Linked DNA regions of Homo sapiens: region 2 is linked to region 1. The links are contacts of gene promoters, found by promoter capture Hi-C in blood cells and fetal thymus (Javierre and others, 2016). All regions are on one chromosome and are shown on one strand. The core of a region is centred on a gene start or on the middle of the fragment in contact, and the rest is flanking DNA. Distances in the headings are between cores, read along the strand shown. Region 1 holds the start of ZNF776 (zinc finger protein 776). Region 2 overlaps LOC124904784 (a long non-coding RNA gene).

Region 1 (3,327 bases), core at 580-3,079:
AAAGATATAATGAGAAACCCCACCTGGAATGCCTAGGGTGATGGTTAGACTGGTTAATCAAGGTAGCACTTGGAAAAAAGGCCAAAGTCTCCTGGCCTGAACCCTGGGTGGAAACCTGAAGACATCTGCACAAGAAAGGGTAAAATGGTCTGGAGAGAAGAGTCCTGGGACTACAACATAAAGTAAAAGTTGACAGGACTATGAAAGTTGGAATGTTAAACATGCTTTTTTTTTTTTAAGTTGTACTACCAATAAACTGAGTTCTTTCCCTACTTTGTATTGGTCACAAAAAAAAGAACACCCAATTTGGGAAAAAAAAAAAAAAAGGCAAGCAAGTTTTATTTCTGAGCAGAAATGGAGAATGAGTAAGCTCTTGCTCTAAATGCCTCTTCTCCCTGAACATAGAAGACATAGGTTTTTTAAGAACTGAGCGGCTGGGTACAGTGGCTCATGCCTTTAATCCCAGCACTTTGGGAGGCCGAGACAGGTGGATCACCTGAGGTTGAGAGTTCGAGACCAGCCTGACCAACATGGAGAAACCCCGTCTCTACTAAAAATACAAAATTAGCCAGGTATGGTGGCTCATGCCTGTAATCCCATCCATAACATTAATTTATTAGGCAAAACACTCCTTGCCATGGAAACAGAAATAAAGAATAGTCACAAAAAAAAAAAAAGAAAAGAAATAAATAAAGTCTGTTTTATCTAATACAAAAAAAAAAAAATAGCCACTTCCCAGCAATAACATGAACTCCTGGATTTAAGACACAACCAATATCAACAGGTGGAGAGCATCTTCTGCATACGTGCCCCACCTTTGAAAACTGCAGCCATTTATCACTACCAAAATAGCATTTCTTTCATTGGTCTTCCTGTAAGATTGATAAATCTTAGATAAATTAATCCAGAATTAATTGAATATAAGTTGGAATCTCAAGCGAGGGATACTAAGTGGATAAAAGTGTTGCTCAATGTACTGGACACTATGATTGATTTTATAGGCAGGAGAGTTGTCTTCTGTGGGAATCACAGACAGAGATTCAGCATGTATTCCTGCTTTAGGGAACACAACATTTCTCCTCTATCTTCCTTGTCTTGTCCTATCTGGATTAGTTCTCTCTTGTCCCTGACAGACTGAGAAACTGACTCTAATGCCTCAGAGTGCATTCATGTGAATTTATAACACAATAATGTTTATCAGCCTCTGCTGCCAGTACCGGGATTTTGCGACTGAAAGACTGTTCAAAACGTTATGATAATTTGGATTTTTAGTCTTTGGGGGCATCCTAAATAATAAGTTTAGCATCGGAGAGCTCGAGTTCCCCAAAATCTAAAATAATATTTTTTCAAATACTTGAGTGATCAGTTACAGACACTAATCTCCAAAAATCTCAATACGGGTTCTAAGGCTAGGTGAGACTATCCTCTACCCTAGAAGGACATGCACTTTAAGGACAGGCCGCTGAGATGGAGCTGGGCCTTTCCTGCAAGTAAGTGAACGTGATGGTAGGGTATACCTGACAGCATAGTTTGACAGGGGATATAGACTTTCAAGGAGAAAATAGACATGAAATAGATACATGCAGAAGTATAGTCAAATTGAGGGAAGATGACACTTAGGCCAGAGTAGTGTTTATTCACCACTCTGTGCAATCAAGCGCCTCTGAGAAGGCCTTCTTTACCGCCTTGGAACTGTCTTGGAACCTGAGGAAACTACATAACCCAGAAATCTCTGCGTCGAATGACAGCGCGTCAGAGCCAATGAGGGCTCAAAATAAAGGCGTTTCCGCGGAAACAGTATAAAGGTGGGACTTCCGGCGTCCTCTACTAGTGGCCATTTTGATTGGTGTTGGGTGTATTTTCCAGTGAGAGACCGCGGAGTGTTGGGTCGTGTAGAAGTGACTGAACCCAGAAGGTGGAGACGAGACGTTGTCCCGACTGCACAGAGGCTGCTCTGCAGCTCCTTAAAGGCGCTAGGCGTGACCCGCACCAAGGCCGGGATCGGGACCACCGTGCCCGGGTACCTGCACTGCTCGCCCCCTCCTTTCGACCCCGCTTTCCCCACCCAGTCGGATGGCGGCGGCCGCGCTGAGGCCCCCGGCTCAGGTAATTGTGGCGTCTTCCGTGCCCTCAGGTCACCTCATCTTTACCTAAGTCCAAAAGCAGAGAGGAAGCGGCGCCTGCTCAAGGTTTTACACCCTGAACCCGGCGTCGGGACACTGAGGCGCTCTCTATGGGCCCCCGTTTTTGACACCCGCGGGATGCGCTCAGGAGAGCTACAGGCACAGGGAGCGGTGCAGGCAAAGGCCTGGAGATGAACTGAGCCGAGAGGATCGTAACCTAGGGTCCACAGGCACCTGTCGGGAGCAAAGTGTGAGGCAGAGCTCCTCCTGGAAGAGCAGGCTGAGGACCGTGTATTCACCCTGAGAACGCTGGAAGCCATGGACAGCTTCCAACAAAGGAAGGAAAAGATCAATGTCCAGGCTTTAAAGGTTTCCCAAAGTCCAGTCGAAAAAGAACACAGGGGATGACTTTTGGGCCCTGGGAGGTTGAATTCTTGTTCAACCTCTACAGATCAGATAGGTGCTAAGAGATGACATTTTGTACTGAGGCGCTCAGTTCAGACAACCAACTCGCGTTTACCTAGTTACAGGGCCAAGAAAGAGTTCAGGGAGGCCTGAGCTTATCAAATCTCATCAGGGATACATTCTTGTAGCTTGTGCCTCTCCTCTCAGGAACTCCTGGCTGCAGAAGCACTTGCAGAACCTCCGCAGGGAAGCGGAGGGTGTTATTCCCTCACTGGCCCTAACTCCTATCCACATGCTCTTTAGATTGGGATGTCCTGGGATTCTTAGGTACCTTTTTTTTTTTTTTTTTAAGTTTTTTGATATGGGAACCCTGGAGGAACCTTAAACCCAGGATCCAAAGTCTGTGACACAGGATATATGGAGGTATTCCCATTTCTGTCAACCAGTATAAACATACTTGGAAGGTTAACCCAGGAGTTAGTACCAGGATGTGAAATGCTTAGAGGTGAAACTGACCAGAGGGAGGAGGTGATGTTGCCACAGTTTCATCTGGCTGTAGTCTCCTCTGGCTGTACAGTGGAGAACAGACTGTGGGGTTGAGAGAGGAGGAAATAAGATGAGAGTTGAGGCTTTTGCCGTAATCCAAGTGAGGGTTAACAGACTAAGATTCATGGCTAAGGAGATGTGGCTGGATTCAAAGTTGATATTTTGTTACAGCATCTAGGTTTCCTAATACACAAAGTAAGGGCATGAAGAGAGCAATCAGGATCCCGAGGTTTTTGGTCTTAGTAGCTGTAGC
Region 2 (3,327 bases), core at 262-2,761, 420 kb after region 1:
TCACGCCTGTAATCCCAGCACTTTCGGAGGCCGAGGCAGGCAGATCACGAGGTCAGGAGATTGAGACCATCCTGGCTAACATAGTGAAACCCCATCTCTACTAAAAATACAAAAAATTAGCCGGGCGTGGTGACAGGCGCCTGTGGTCCCAGCTACTCAGAGGCTGAGGCAGGAGAATGGCGTGAACCCGGGAGGCGGAGCTTGCAGTGAGCCGAGATCACGCCACTGCACTCCAGCCTGGGCGACAGAGCGAGACTCCGTCTCAAAAACAAAAACAAAAACAAAAACAAAAAACAAAAACATAGCAGCTTACAACAAGGGAAGACAACTTTTTCTGTAAAGGACCAGACAGTAAATATTTTAGGTTTGGGGGACTATATGGTCTCTGTTGCAACTGTCAACCTTGTTGTAGCACAACAGCAGCTATTGACTATACATAATACATGGGCAGAGCTGTATTTCAGTAAAACCTATGGACAGTTGAGTGTGGTGGCTCACACCTGTAATCCCAACACTTTTGGGGGCCAAGGTGGGAGGATCACTTAAACCCAGGAGTTCAAGACCAGCCTGAGCAACAAAGTGACACCCCATCCCTACAAAAATAAAAATAAAAAAACTTTATGGGCCAGGCGCGGTGGCTCACGTCTGTAATCCTAGCACTTTGGGAGGCCAAGGTGGGCGGATCACGAGGTCAGGAGATTGAGACCATCCCGGCTAACACGGTGAAACCCTGTCTCTACTAAAAATACAAAAAATTAGCCAGGCGTGGTGGTGGGCGCCTGTAGTCCCAGCTACTCGGGAAGCTGAGGCAGGAGAATGGAGTGAACCCAGGAGGTGGAGGTTGCAGTGAGCTGAGATCGTGCCACTGCACTCCAGCCTGGGTGACAGAGTGAGACTCCGTCTCAAACAAACAAACAAACAAACAAAAAACTTCATGGACACTGAAATTTGAATTTCATATAATTTTCACATCACAAAATATAATTATTCCTTTATTTTCAATTATTAAAAGATGTAAAAACTACAATTAATTGATCACAACCAGTTACAGATTTCTTTGTTCTTCTCCACTCCCACTGCTTCGTTTGACCAGCCAAAACAACAAAAAAAAGAATTTTAAAAAATATAAAAACTACTCTTAGTTCATAAGCCATCCCCTCCCCAAAAAGGCAACAGACGGGACCAGACCTGGAAACTATAGTTTGCTGACTCCTAGCAGTAACAAATTACCACAGATTTAGTGGCTTAAAACAAAATAAAGTTATTATCTTATAGTTCTGGAGGTCAGAAATCCAAAATGGGTTGGCTTTCCTTTGGGAGGCATGAGTGGAGAATACATGCCTTCCATTTTCCAGCTTCTAAAGGACACTTACATTGCTAGGTCTATGGCCCTGAGTCACTCCAACCTCTGCTTCCATCATCAAAACTCGTTTTCTGATTCTGACTCTTCTATCTTCCTCTTCCACATTTAAGTATCCTTGTGAATACACTGGGCCCACTCAGATAATCCAGGATAATCTCTGTATCTCAAGATTCCTAATTTATTCACATCTGTAAAAATTCTTTTGCCATGTGAAGTAACATTCACGAGGTTCTAGGGATGAGGATGTGGACATCTTTTGGAAACCATTACTGAGCTCACTACACAGTCCAAGAAGGCCTCTCTGAGGAGGTCAATGTTAATCTGACTTCTCAAGTAAAAGAAGGAGCCAACATACTGAGGAAGAGCATTTTGGTAGAAGGAGAGCACTAGCAAAGGCTCTGAGGTGGAGAGAATTTGGTACAATCAAGAAACCAGCCAGGCACAGTGAGTGGCTCATGCCTGTAATCCCAGCACTTTGGGAGGTCGAGGCCGACGGATCACTTGAGGTCAGGAGTTTGAGACCCGCCTGGCCAGTATGGTGAAACCCATCTCTACTAAAAATACAAAAATTAGCTGGGCATGGTGGCGCGTGCCTGTAATCCCAGCCACCTGGGAGGCTGAGGCACGAGAATTGCTTGACCCCAGGAGGTGGAGGTTGCAGTGAGCCAAGATCACGCCATTGCACTCCAGCCTGGGTGACAGCGAGACTCGTTCCCCAAGGAAAAAAAAAAAACAATAGCAGGCAGTGAAGACAGAATGGATGGGCAAGGGGAGAGAGCAGAAGAGTCAGGGGAAATCTGGCTGACATGTGCCAGGCCTTGTGCACCTTGATTAGGAGTTTGGGCTTCACCCTGAAGGAGACAGGAAACCAGAAGGGGTGGAGTTAACCTCGGGAGTGACATGATCTAATTTGCACCATTAGAAGGGCACTGCCTGATGTGTGGGGGAAGATCTCCAGCAGGCATTTAGTCACAGGCTTTGGAAATTCAGAAGCTGAGGGTTAGTGATCTCGACTTGGAAGTCATCAACATAACAGTCGAATGGTGAGGGATACAAGTCACCTCAAACAATTGGCCAAGAAACAGTCACGGTGATGCCATGCTAGGTACTGTTGCCAAGGAAATTAGCAAACAGATTTGGAATCTGCCTTTATGTAGCAATCAGCATAGTGAATGTGGATGTTCTACAAAAAAGCATAAATATTTGAGAGCAATGAGAAGTCACTCGTTGAATTTAAGCAAGAGAATTAAATGATCTAGTTTACATTTTAAGAGAGACAGGGTCGGGAGAGGGGGGAGGGATAGCATTAGGAGATATACCTAATGTTAAATGACAAGTTAATGGGTGCAGCACACCAACGTGGCACATGTGTACATATGTAACTAACCTGCACGTTGTGCACATGTACCCTAAAACTTAAAGTATATATAAATAAAAATAATAAAAAAAATAAATAAATAAATAAAAGAGACAGGGTCTTGCTGTGTCACCCAGGCTGGTGTGCAGTGGTGCAATCATAGCTTGCTGCAACCTTGGAATCCTGGGCTCAAGAAATCCCCCCACCTCAGCCTTCCAAGTAGCCGAAATCATAAGTGCACACCACCACACCCGGCTAATTAAAAAAAAACTTTTTTTGTAGAGACGGGGGTCTCACTGTGTTGTCCAGGCTGGTCTCGAACTTCTGAACTCAAGTGATCTTCCTGCCTTGGCCTCCCAAAGTGCTGGTATTACAAGGGTGAGCCACCACACCTGGCCTGATTTCCATGTTTGAACGGTTGCACTGGTTGAGTGTTGGGATGGTGTCATGAACAGAAGAGGAGATGATGATGAAAGCACTACTGTGTAGTTCAGTCAAGAAGTGTCATGACTTGGAACCGGATGAGTCAATGGAAGTAAAAAGGGGATCATTTCAATGTATGTTTAAGGTGGGCTCAGAATTTGGTGATTGATTCAAAATGGAAGTG

What was found. Contacts are between HindIII fragments. The CHiCAGO score rates a contact against its expected background, and 5 or more counts as called.
Region 2: a contact is called between a fragment that was not itself captured here and the fragment with the promoter of ZNF776 in region 1, in 1 of 17 cell types (neutrophils). The highest score is 5.9, in neutrophils.

What each region holds. Positions count from the first base shown.
Region 1 is chr19:57,744,986-57,748,312 of GRCh38, forward strand. ZNF776 (zinc finger protein 776) reads left to right here and starts at 1,830. Exons shown (of 3, transcript NM_173632.4): 1 at 1,830-2,106. The coding sequence starts at 2,074. RefSeq lists an enhancer at 1,842-1,891. The HindIII fragment of the contact is 9,325 bases long and covers 1-3,327 here.
Region 2 is chr19:58,160,522-58,163,848 of GRCh38, forward strand. The region is part of intron 1 of LOC124904784 (a long non-coding RNA gene); the gene reads left to right. Among named protein-coding and RNA genes, the nearest start is that of ZNF329, 11 kb to the left of the region's middle. The HindIII fragment of the contact is 9,989 bases long and covers 1-3,327 here.